Regions from separate parts of the Homo sapiens genome. Here region 1 is linked to region 2. The links are contacts of gene promoters, found by promoter capture Hi-C in blood cells and fetal thymus (Javierre and others, 2016). All regions are on one chromosome and are shown on one strand. Each heading gives the region's core, a stretch centred on a gene start or on the middle of the fragment in contact. The rest is flanking DNA. Distances are from core to core; before and after follow the strand shown. Region 1 overlaps LINC02069 (long intergenic non-protein coding RNA 2069). Region 2 holds the start of FAM131A (family with sequence similarity 131 member A).

What was found. The method cuts DNA at HindIII sites, captures the fragments that hold promoters and counts their contacts. A CHiCAGO score of 5 or more calls a contact.
Region 1: a contact is called between a fragment that was not itself captured here and the fragment with the promoter of FAM131A in region 2, in 2 of 17 cell types (M1 macrophages and M0 macrophages). The highest score is 5.4, in M1 macrophages.

Annotation. Positions count from the first base shown.
Region 1 is chr3:184,763,457-184,768,606 of GRCh38, forward strand. It overlaps LINC02069 (long intergenic non-protein coding RNA 2069), which reads right to left. Exons shown (of 3, transcript NR_110043.1): 2 at 1,864-2,013. Among named protein-coding and RNA genes, the nearest start is that of LINC02069, 7.1 kb to the right of the region's middle. The HindIII fragment of the contact is 894 bases long and covers 3,276-4,169 here.
Region 2 is chr3:184,334,116-184,339,664 of GRCh38, forward strand. It overlaps FAM131A (family with sequence similarity 131 member A), which reads left to right and starts at 3,485. Exons shown (of 6, transcript NM_144635.5): 1 at 3,485-3,603; 2 at 4,272-4,414. The coding sequence starts at 3,516. EIF4G1 (eukaryotic translation initiation factor 4 gamma 1) reads left to right here. Exons shown (of 33, transcript NM_198241.3): 33 at 612-1,238. The coding sequence ends at 793. RefSeq lists enhancers at 569-718, 4,027-4,638 and silencers at 1,689-2,118, 2,035-2,235, 2,159-2,228. The HindIII fragment of the contact is 18,780 bases long and covers 1-5,549 here.

The DNA of each region.
Region 1 (5,150 bases), core at 2,473-4,972, 430 kb after region 2:
AAAGGAGGATCTCAAACCCAGGCAAGAGGAGAGGACCGAGAGTTCCCAAGAAGGATGAATGCTGGCTCTCTGCTTCTGTGTGACCAGGAAGCACCAACATGACAAGGAAAAAAGGCAACTGTGGAGGAAGGCAATACAGCAGAAAGCAGTCACAGAGGCCTCTCAAAAACAGACCTTAAGGCCAGGTGTGGTGGCTCATGCCTGTAATCCCAGCGCTTTGGGAGGCCAAGGCAGGTGGATCATGAGGTCAAGAGATCAAGACCATCCTGGACAACATGGTGAAACTCTGTCTCTACTGAAATACAAAAAAATTAGCTGGGCGTGGTGATGCGTGCCTGTAGTCCCAGCTACTCAGGAGGCTGAGGCAGGGGAATCGCTTGAACCCAGGAGGTGGAGGTTGCAGTGAGTCGAGATCACGTCACTGCACTCCAGCCTGGTGACAAAGCGAGACTCCATCTCAAACAAAAACAAAAACAAAAACAAAAACAAAAAACAGACCTTCAGCTCAATCTTGGCAGAAGGAGCCAGTACAGAAATAGTGCTTATTTAGTGGCAAGCACTGTGCTAAACACTTTGTTAATACATTTAACTCTTAAAACAAGGCTATGAGATGGGCCCTATTAGCCACAAATACAGATGGGGAAGTGAAGGCCCAGAAGGGTTAATAACCTGCCCAAGAGCACACATGGCTGGCTATTAGTAAACCTGGGGTTTGAACCCAGACAGTCTAGTTCCGGAGTCTATGGCCACTACACCAAGGAGGGAAAGTGTGGCTAAGGATGGCCTTCAACTGGTAGAAGTCAACATCAGTCAGCCTGGTGGGCTTGAGTTTGGGGGTGTGATCAGAGTCTGGTTGGAGGGACTGTCCCAGACCAGCTCCGTGCCTCTGTCTAGAAAGTCCAGAGGCATTCAGGAAGAGTGCAACAGCCAAGCTGTGGGCTGCCGGAAGATCGTGATCCCCACACATTGTCCTGGTCTTGTGATTTGCTTTTTGGGGGAAGAAGGAACTTTGTACCAGAATACTAAGAGATACTTTAAACCTATGTTCAAGAGAATTCTCCCTACTTTGGAACTTTGGGTCTGGCTTCCTGGGATTCCCCCAACATCTCCCCTAACCACTCCAGAGCAGCCTCCAGTCGCCACCACCACCACCACCCTCAAGCCAGAAGTCATTTTTTTTTTTTTTTGAGACGGAGTCTCACTCTGTTGCCCAGGCTGGATTGCAATGGCGCGATCTTGGCTCACTGCAACCTCTGCCTCTCGGGTTCAAGGAATTCTCCTGCTTCAGCTTGCCGAGTAGCTGGGATCATAGGTGCCTGCCACCACGCCTGGCTAATTTTTTGTATTTTTAGTAGAGACAGGGTTTCACCATGTTGGCCAGGCTGGTCTCGAACCCCTGACCTCAGGTGATCTACCTGCCTTGGCCTCCCAAAGTTCTGGAATTACAGGTGTGAGCCACCGCGCCTGACCCAGAAATCATCTTAAAACATTCCCTCAACAACCCTTTACCTTGATACAACACCTCATAGTCACCAAAGCATTCTTACATCCTCAGCCCATGGGTTCCTCCTCCCCACATCAGCCCTGGAAGGCAGGCAGCTCAGAGATTATTAAACCATTTTACAGATGAGGAAAATGAGACAAGCTTAGTGATGTTTGCAAGCCACATGGTTGGTGAGTCACGTTGGCTGCACTGTTAGATTTCAAGGCAGTGAGACCAGAAGGTAGCCTCGTATGGGGAGGGGTGGGATCTGGGTTGAGGCAGCCAAGGATTTGCATGAATTGGATGAGAGATCCCAGCTCCTCTGTGTCCAGAAAGTTTCACCTTGAGTCACCTGCCTTTCCCTCCCCGGGACACCGCACCTTCCCAACAGAGCAGTGTTGAGTCAGCTCCCCTTTTTCTGCCTCTCCGAGGTACTCTCAGCCATGCCCTCCTTCTGGCTTTCGTAGGATCTGACTCAAGATCCACTTTAGGCAGGCAGTATCTGTGGAACCTTCTCGTGTAGGGCCCACCTGTAAACAAGAGGAGGTGTTTGGAAATTATTCATGAAAGAAGAACACCATGAACAGCATTTGACCTCTTCAGAGAAAAGAGATATGCAAGTTTATAGCGGTAGTGGCGATAGTAATATCCAATGACATAACAACTTCAACAATTACACTTGCATTTCTTCCAAAGAGCTTTAAGCATTTTCGAGTTTATTGGGCTATTTGATCTCATAAAAGTCCCACAAATGGGTAGTGCTGGTTATTATTATCATTTTATAGATGAGAAAACTGAGGCCCGGAAATATGTCAGTGATTGCCCAAGACCTCGCAGCGAGGGAGGAGGGAGGTAGGGCTGAGTCTGTTTCTTCACGTCTCCAGGTGTTTCGTGTGTGGGACTCCCTCTTGGTGTCTGAATTCCTGTGAAGTAAGGTGTGGACAGAGGAGGTGGCTGGTGGCAGGCTCAGAGGATTTTTCTGCACATGGTCACTGAGAGACAGTGAGTCAGGCACCCTTATTTTGAGTTCGGTTTCCTCTTTCACTTCCCCAAACAATTTCTGGAGATGGAGTTCACTTGGCACCCGTTCTCAGATGATGAGCTGGGGGTATGTGCACAGCTGCCCCTGAAGGTTTTCGTGGTAGTGGTGATCTGGAAGGGGTGGATGCTCACATTCTTATCCTGAGACTCCTCCTGTTCTCCTGGTCTACCAATCCCCTCTCCAGGAGGGGGGTCCTTGCTAGCTCTGTCTGTTACCACGGCCTCCTCACTGTTTTTCTGACCTCAGTATCTTTCCTTTTTTTTTTTTTTTTTTTTTTTTTTTGAGATGGAGTCTTGCTCTGTCTCCCAGGATGGAGTGCAGCACCGTGATCTCGGCTCACTAGAACTTCTGCCTCCTGGGTTCAAGCGATTCTCCTAGCTCAGCCTCCCGAATAGCTGGGACTACAGGTGTGTGCCACCACTCTCAGTTACCTTTTCTATTTTTAGTAGAGACAAGGTTTTGTCATGTTGGCCAGGCTGGTCTCGAACTCCTCACCTCATATGATCCACCCACCTTGGCCTCCCAAAGTGCTGGGATTACAGGCATGAGGCACCGCGTCTGGCCTGACCTCAGTATCTTTTTCATTCAATCATCTCCATGACTGACCTTCCAAAAGCTCTCCCTCCACCTCTCAGAAATTGTCAGTAGAATCTCATTACTTCTGGCCTCAGCTTGGCACTCAAGGCCCCACCCAGTCAAGTCACAAACTACCTTCCCACCCTTGGCTCCTCCCTCTCATCCTCCTCTTGAAGCTTTATCTTCAGTTAGACTGGAGGATTTGCCTAGACATGCTTTGTGTTTTCCCAACTCCACAGTTCCCTTGGCTTGGAAAGCCACTCCCACCCCTCTGCCTGCTGGATTTCTATGCAGCCTTCAAAGCCCATGACAAATGTCACCTCTCTCATGAAGCCCTCCTTGATTCCATCATTGGAAAATGAGCTTCTCCCTCCTGGGATGTCTCACAGCACCTGGCATACAGGTCTCCACACAAGCAGTTCTCTGTGTGTTGTGGCAGTGGTGTCAAGATTTGGATGTTTGTGAAACTACAAAGACTGCAGGATTCGGCAATACCACTTGTGGGCATGTGTGTGCGTGTGTGTGTCTGTACGTGTGTGTGTGTGTGCGTGTGTGTGTGTTGGTATGAGGAGTGAGCACAGCTACATAAACAATTGTATGTCAGAAAGGGATGAGACACTTACTAGGTTTAGAGTGTGTCAATCACTTCAGTTCTGCCAATGAACAGAGAGCCAGATGTCTCTCTCCAAGGATAGAGAACACTCACAATAAAGACTATAAACACACTTGGGGGAAGAAAGAATGGAGAGAGGGAGGAAATGAACAAGTATGTATGGCTCATTTACTATAGTCCAGGCGCTGCGTTGGAGAGGAAATTTCATGTGAGCAGTGTGCTCACTTAACCCTCACCGTAGCCGAGAGGTAGGAATCTGCCCCTGTTTTGTGGTTGAGTACTGCTTTGGGCCAGGTTCTCAAAACGCAGGCTCTGGGTGTGCGGGGTAACTGGGAGCACTCATGGGCTGTCGGCATGCAGGGTAACTGGGAGCACTCACGGAGCAGCCCCGCTGGGGAGTCATGAAGGCAGGCTGGCACAGGAAAGGCTGAACGGCAGCGAGGCTGGTGTGCTGAAGCTTGGGTGGCCCTTTTAAGATGTGCCCCCATTGAGGCGATGGGATCCTTGTGCCCTCTGGGAGGGGGAAACCCAGGCAAGACGGCTCCCTTCAGCCAAGGGTGGTTCCTGGGGGGGACAGCACCCACTACACGTACACTGTGGATTAGAGAAACGCGTGCCCCCGCCACATGCAGACTGTCAGCAAGTGGAAGGGGCAGGGATGGAACTCCCTTCCACTAAGGGGGCTTCACCAGATTCTCCTGTTTCAAGGAGAAATAGAGTTTGGAAACCTCTCATTTTATAAACGAGGACACTGAGGCACAAAGCAGGGTGGTTGGTGCCTTGCCTAAAGTCATACAGATTTCATGTAACAAATTGTGCTGGTTAGGTAGGGGAGGATGCAGAGCTCACAGCACAGGTGAATACCTCCATCGCAAAGGCTGAACCAAATGCCCCGTTAAATCAGGAGACCTGCCTCTTTCAGCTTTGTTTTCTGAAGAAATCCCTTCCCAGGGGTTGAAGCCCTCAGGCTGTGTCCCGAGGCCTGGTGTGGCCTTCAGTCCATCTCCAGAAGACAGCATAGGCCAGGCGCGGTGTTTCACGCCTGTAAGCCCAACACTTTGGGAGGCTGAGGAGGATCACCTGAGATCAGGAGTTCGAGACCAGCCTGGCCAACATGGTGAATCCCCGTCTGTGCTAAAAATACAAAAATTAGCTGGGCGTGTTGGCGGGTGCCTGTAATCCCAGCTATTTGGGAGGCTGAGGCAGGAGAATCGCTTGAACTCGGGAAGCGTGGGTTACAGTGAGCTAAGATCACACCACTGCACTCCAGCCTGGGCGACAAGAGCAAAACTCCATCTCAAAAAAAAAAGAAGAAGAAGAAGAAGTCAGCCTGGTCACTCTTTGCCCATTGTGCACTGTCAGCTATGAGCGGAAGTCTGCACCTAGAAAGCTCCCAGGAAAAGAATGCTCTTCCCTCTTTCTGAAAGATTTCAGGT
Region 2 (5,549 bases), core at 2,235-4,734:
TTGCTTGGGAAGGCTACCCAGCAGCTAGGGGTTGAGGAGAAAGAGGGCCCGAACAGGTGATGCTTGAGTTGAGTCCTGAAGGAACAAGACACGAGGAAGTTTCCGGCAAAGGATATAGCATCCACAAAAGTGTCAAGGCCAGAGAAGGTGTGTATGTACAGGAAATGTGTGGGGAAGGAAGGGAAATTGAGATCAGGAGTTGTCAGGATCTGTTTGGGGGGCAGTGAATGTTCAGGTTACATGTAGGATATATATAGGACTTTATGTATGATATATATAGGACTTTTAGCGATTTCCTGAATTCAGGAGTACCAATTCTGAATATAGTTTTCTCCATTAAATACATCATGGGCAGAGAGGTTTCAGGCTGCCAAGGTGAGGCCAAGCAAGTTTGTAAGGTTTTTCTGATGGCCAAGTGACTCATTGCTGTGCAGCAGTCTCAGATCATGAGATTAGCATCCTGTCAGAGGCCTAGTCACTCTGGAATGGCCACAAATGTCAGGCTGGTGCATCAGGGCCTTGTTTGAACAGTGGAACTTGGGAGGGTTCCCTGGGGTGGGCTGGGGTGGCGGTGGCCAGTCACCTCTAACTGCTGTCCCGCCTGCTTGCAGACCTGCTGCGGATGTTCTTTGACGCACTGTATGACGAGGACGTGGTGAAGGAGGATGCCTTCTACAGTTGGGAGAGTAGCAAGGACCCCGCTGAGCAGCAGGGCAAGGGTGTGGCCCTTAAATCTGTCACAGCCTTCTTCAAGTGGCTCCGTGAAGCAGAGGAGGAGTCTGACCACAACTGAGGGCTGGTGGGGCCGGGGACCTGGAGCCCCATGGACACACAGATGGCCCGGCTAGCCGCCTGGACTGCAGGGGGGCGGCAGCAGCGGCGGTGGCAGTGGGTGCCTGTAGTGTGATGTGTCTGAACTAATAAAGTGGCTGAAGAGGCAGGATGGCTTGGGGCTGCCTGGGCCCCCCTCCAGGATGCCGCCAGGTGTCCCTCTCCTCCCCCTGGGGCACAGAGATATATTATATATAAAGTCTTGAAATTTGGTGTGTCTTGGGGTGGGGAGGGGCACCAACGCCTGCCCCTGGGGTCCTTTTTTTTATTTTCTGAAAATCACTCTCGGGACTGCCGTCCTCGCTGCTGGGGGCATATGCCCCAGCCCCTGTACCACCCCTGCTGTTGCCTGGGCAGGGGGAAGGGGGGGCACGGTGCCTGTAATTATTAAACATGAATTCAATTAAGCTCACTGCCTTTCTGCTTTATGCCCTGCTCCCTCTAGAGAAGGTGTTTATAGGTGGGGATCCTTCCCAGAGCTGGTACTGTAGCGCTGTTCCCTGTAACCTGGCACCCCTCCTGCCTCTTCCCCTGTCCATGATTGCAGGGATCTGAGGTTTCCTGGAAGGTTGGGCCCTCAGATGGGCTTGATAGGTGCCTTCCTGGTCCGGAGAAAAGGGAGATTAGTGATAGGACATCCTTGCTAGGCTCTGCTCTCCTACCAGAATGATTCAAGCCCCTGTGTGGGGAAGGCTTTTGGGTTTCGGGTTGTTTATAGCTGGAGAATCCCTTTATGGCTTGAAGGTGTCATCTGTAAAATGAAGGGGCTGGATGCATGAAGGGAGGTTTTGCGACCCCGTGTAGTGTGACTGGGCTGGCTTAGTGAGTGTTCGCCGCCCCTGCCTTCAGGTGGCAGTCGGCTCTGGGAGGAGAGGACCGGCATTTTCGAACCCGGTCCAGGCCGCCTCTGCGTGGCTGTGACGTCGCTGCGCCCCGCCTACTTTGGGTGGTGACGCGGCGGTCACGCCCCCGCGCTTACGTCACCGGCCCGGTTCCCTCTCCGGGGAGCGGCGGCGGACGCGCGGCTCCCACCCCTCCCCTCTCACGGGCTCTCCCCTCCCCAGTGTGGCCGCGACCCTACCCTCTGCAAGGCGATGGCCCGCGCCCCGAGCGCAGGCTAGCGTGCCTGGGTGCCCGGCCATGGGCTGTATCGGCTCTCGGAGCCCGGCGGGTCAGGGTAAGAGGCGGAGGCCGGGTACGGGTTGGGGAGTCGGGCTGCGGCCGCCGGTGCGCGGGCCGCGGGTGGGTGGGGGCCTTGAGGAGGGGGCCGGTGTCGGGAGAGGGAGGAGCCTGCACCGGGAGGCGGGCCAGGCAACAGGAGGGAGCGGGAATGAGCAGGGAAGGGGCCAGACCGACTCCGGTTCGCTCCCACGGCCTGCCTGCCTTGGGGTTTTGCAGGGCAGACGCATGGTCTCGCCGCTGGCTGCCGTGTGCCCACTGCTCAGGGTGGCCGGAGACGCACAGCCCCGGGAGGGGCTGGGCAGCCCGATGCCCCCACCACTCCAGCCCTCGGCGACTGGCCTTGCGCGCCCACACACACACTCCCCTCCGCCTACACCTCTGCCTTCACAGTCCTGGGAGTGGCCCTGTGCTGGGAACCTGCTTCTCCCAGCCGTGTCCCCATCTTCTTAAAGAGGTAGCCTTTCGGTCCTGGCTAAGCACCCTACCACAGAATTTTTGTCGGACATTGACTCCCCTCTTCAGTCAGTCGGCGAAGGGGGACTGAGGTCCCGTTTGGGGCACCTGTGAACACTGAATCACCTCTCACCTATTACAGTTGTTTTAATGTCCTGCCCCCACTCAGCAAAAACAAATCACTCTACTCTGTGGAGGGAAAGAGGAACCCAGAGGCAGGCCATCAGGGCTTCCTTCCCACAGTGCTGACCCCTGCCTGGGCCTCGGTTTCCGTGGGTGGCCATGCACACCGGGCCTGGCCGTAGTCCTGTGCATCAGAGGTCGGCCAGCTTCCTTTACTCCGGTGTGGTGGATTTCTCCACGCATAAGGCAAGGCAGGACTGGGTTTGGGATGGGTCCTGGACCTTCAGGGCAGGTGGTCAGTCACACAGGCCTTGGTGTGGTTGGTACTTGATGTTCTTTGGAGCTAAGACTGGCTGAGATTTGTACTTCCCTTGAGGAATTCTGGGATTTGTAGTCCTAAGTTAACCTCGTGGCTTTTGAAGCTGAGGAGCAGCTGACTGCTCTGATCTCTCTGGCCCTATCAAGGCTTGGAGTTCAGGAAGTCATCACCTTCTCTTGTCAGGGGTGAGTTTGGCTGACCTCAGGACTGGCCTCGAGAGCCCTGGTTAGGTACCAGTTGGGGGCCAGGGATGGCCTGTAACCTCCTGTTTTCCTTCTGGTTGGTAGCATTTCTGGGGACCAACAGCTGGCCGAGGCTCAGGGATAGAGACGGCTGCTCCAGCTAAAGGTCAGTTGTGATGTACATTGCCTGTTGGCACTGTCTAGGGAATGGGCCTCAGCTCCCCGAGTCCCAGAGAGCTTGGCTGAGCCCTGGTGTTCCCACCTCCTCAGAGCCATGAGGCAGGAATGTTCTCCTTATGTGACTAGGCACAGGTTCCAAATGGGGAGGGGACTGGCTCAGCATCCGGAGCCAAAACAGGAATAGAACTGGGAGCTGAGCCTGGAGCGGTTCTGGGCTTTTGGTTCTCTGCATCAACACAGCCAGCATGCCTATGATTTCTGTGCTGGGCAAAATGTTTCTGTGGCAGCGTGAAGGGCCTGGAGGACGATGGACTTGTCAGACAAGTCGCAGAGGTGAGACCAGGGATCATGGATGTGATCTGGGAGATGATGGGAAGCTGAGCAGTAGGGTGCTTAGGTGGAAAAGGAAAATTACTCTGGCTTAGATATTAAGAACCAGGCTGAAACAGGGAGAACCAGGCTGGGGCCAGACAGGGCATCAGGAAACGGCTTCAGGGGACAGGGGTGAAAATCAGAAAAAATATCATGAGTTCGTCAGAAAAGAAGAGTAAAGAGCTGTGGACCAGCTGAGGCTGGCGAGAGGAAAGAAGGCAGCAGGAAGAGAGAAGGAAGGCAACCCTCCTGCAAAGGGTCCAGGGTGGCGGTGGTGGGGGGGACAGTGATGGCGGAAGAACTCAGTGTGCTTTCCAAGAGGAATGGGTAGGCTGGGAAACGGGAAGGAGAGTCAGAATTTATCATTGTTTGGTTTCACCCTAGGGTTTTGAGGCAAAATTTATCCAGAGCAGGAAGGTGGCAAGTGGGCTGCCACAGAATGGCCCCAGGGGCCCGAGGGTCAGTGATGTGTGGGATGGGGGCTTTTAGAGTTGAGGAGAGCACTCAGTGGGCGCTGGTCTTCTGGAAGGTGGGGGAGGGGCCGAGAAATGATACGGCAATACTGGATGAAAATGGGGATCTCTGCAGAAGTAGGGGCACAGCTCAACAGCCTTTCCCCTTCCTCTCAGTGTCCTCGGACCCCGCTTGGGCTGTGGAGTGGATCGAACTTCCTCGGGGTCTCTCTCTATCCTCTTTGGGATCTGCTCGAACCCTCCGAGGCTGGAGCAGGTCCTCCCGCCCTTCCTCGGTGGACAGTCAGGACTTGCCAGAGGTGCTGGGCCCCTGGTGGTGGGGGGAAGGAGGACGTCATCCATATAAAGGGGATCTGCAGCCCCCACCCACGCCTGGCCAGCCAGCTTCTGGCTCCCTTTTCCGGCGGGCGGAGGCGCTATCCGGCGGCGGGCCGGGAGGCCGCCCCCGTGCCGGTCTGCTCTGCTCGGCGCTGTGCCAGCAGGCGGAGAGCTCGCGCCTTCCGCGCTGACGTCAGCGCATCCCGGGCCGTATCCCGGGAGACCCTGTTGCGTGGTGATGGGTTGCCAGGGAGACATACACCTTTTCTCTGGGCCTGGGCCGCAGCTGCGCGGAGCGCCGGGCACGGATGGCGGCGGCTGAGGGGAGCGAAGCGAGGGAGGGAGAGCAAGCTAAGAAACACCCAGCAGGTGCTCCCCCGCCTAGGCCTGGCTGGAGGCTACTGGCGCCACCCTGGGGGCCCTGTCAGCCAGGTACCCAAGGGGAGGGATCGAGGGTGGGCCTCAGGTCAAGGGGCAGTGTTGGCTGCCCTTGTGAGGGACGGGAACGTGATAGAAGAGAGCTGGGCAATGCCGGGGAGGGATGTGTGCCTCCAACTTCATTAAGTGAGGGAAACATTTGCTGGGGCTTGTCAGGGAGCCCTGAGCCAGGTACAGGGTGGAGTTAGGAACTTACGTGCATCAGACTTAGGCCTTGCCATCCTGAGCTCCCTCGGGAGACAGACAAGGGCAATGATGGGGGCGGGGTGTGTCAGAGAAAAGAAGAGGCTGTCGGCTGAAAGCATTATTTGCAGGTGACACTTGAGATGGGCCTTAAGTGATGGCAAGCATTTTTTCACGTAAGGATGGCATTCTTGGCCCAGAGGAAAGCTGAGTTCCTTTTCCTGGAGGCAGGCGGGCTGCTTGCTGACAGGGATTGGTGGAGAAGGGTTTTTGTTTTTTGTTATTTATTTTTATGTATTTATTTATTTGAGACGGAGTTTCGCTCTTGTTGCCCAGGCTGGAATGCAATGGTGCGATCTCGGCTCACCGCAGCCTCTGCCTCTGGGGTTCAAGCGATTATCCTGCCTCAGCCTCCAGAGTAGCTGGGATTACAGGCATGCGCTGCCACGCCCGGCTGATTTTGTATTTTTAGTAGAGGCGGGGTTTCACCATGTT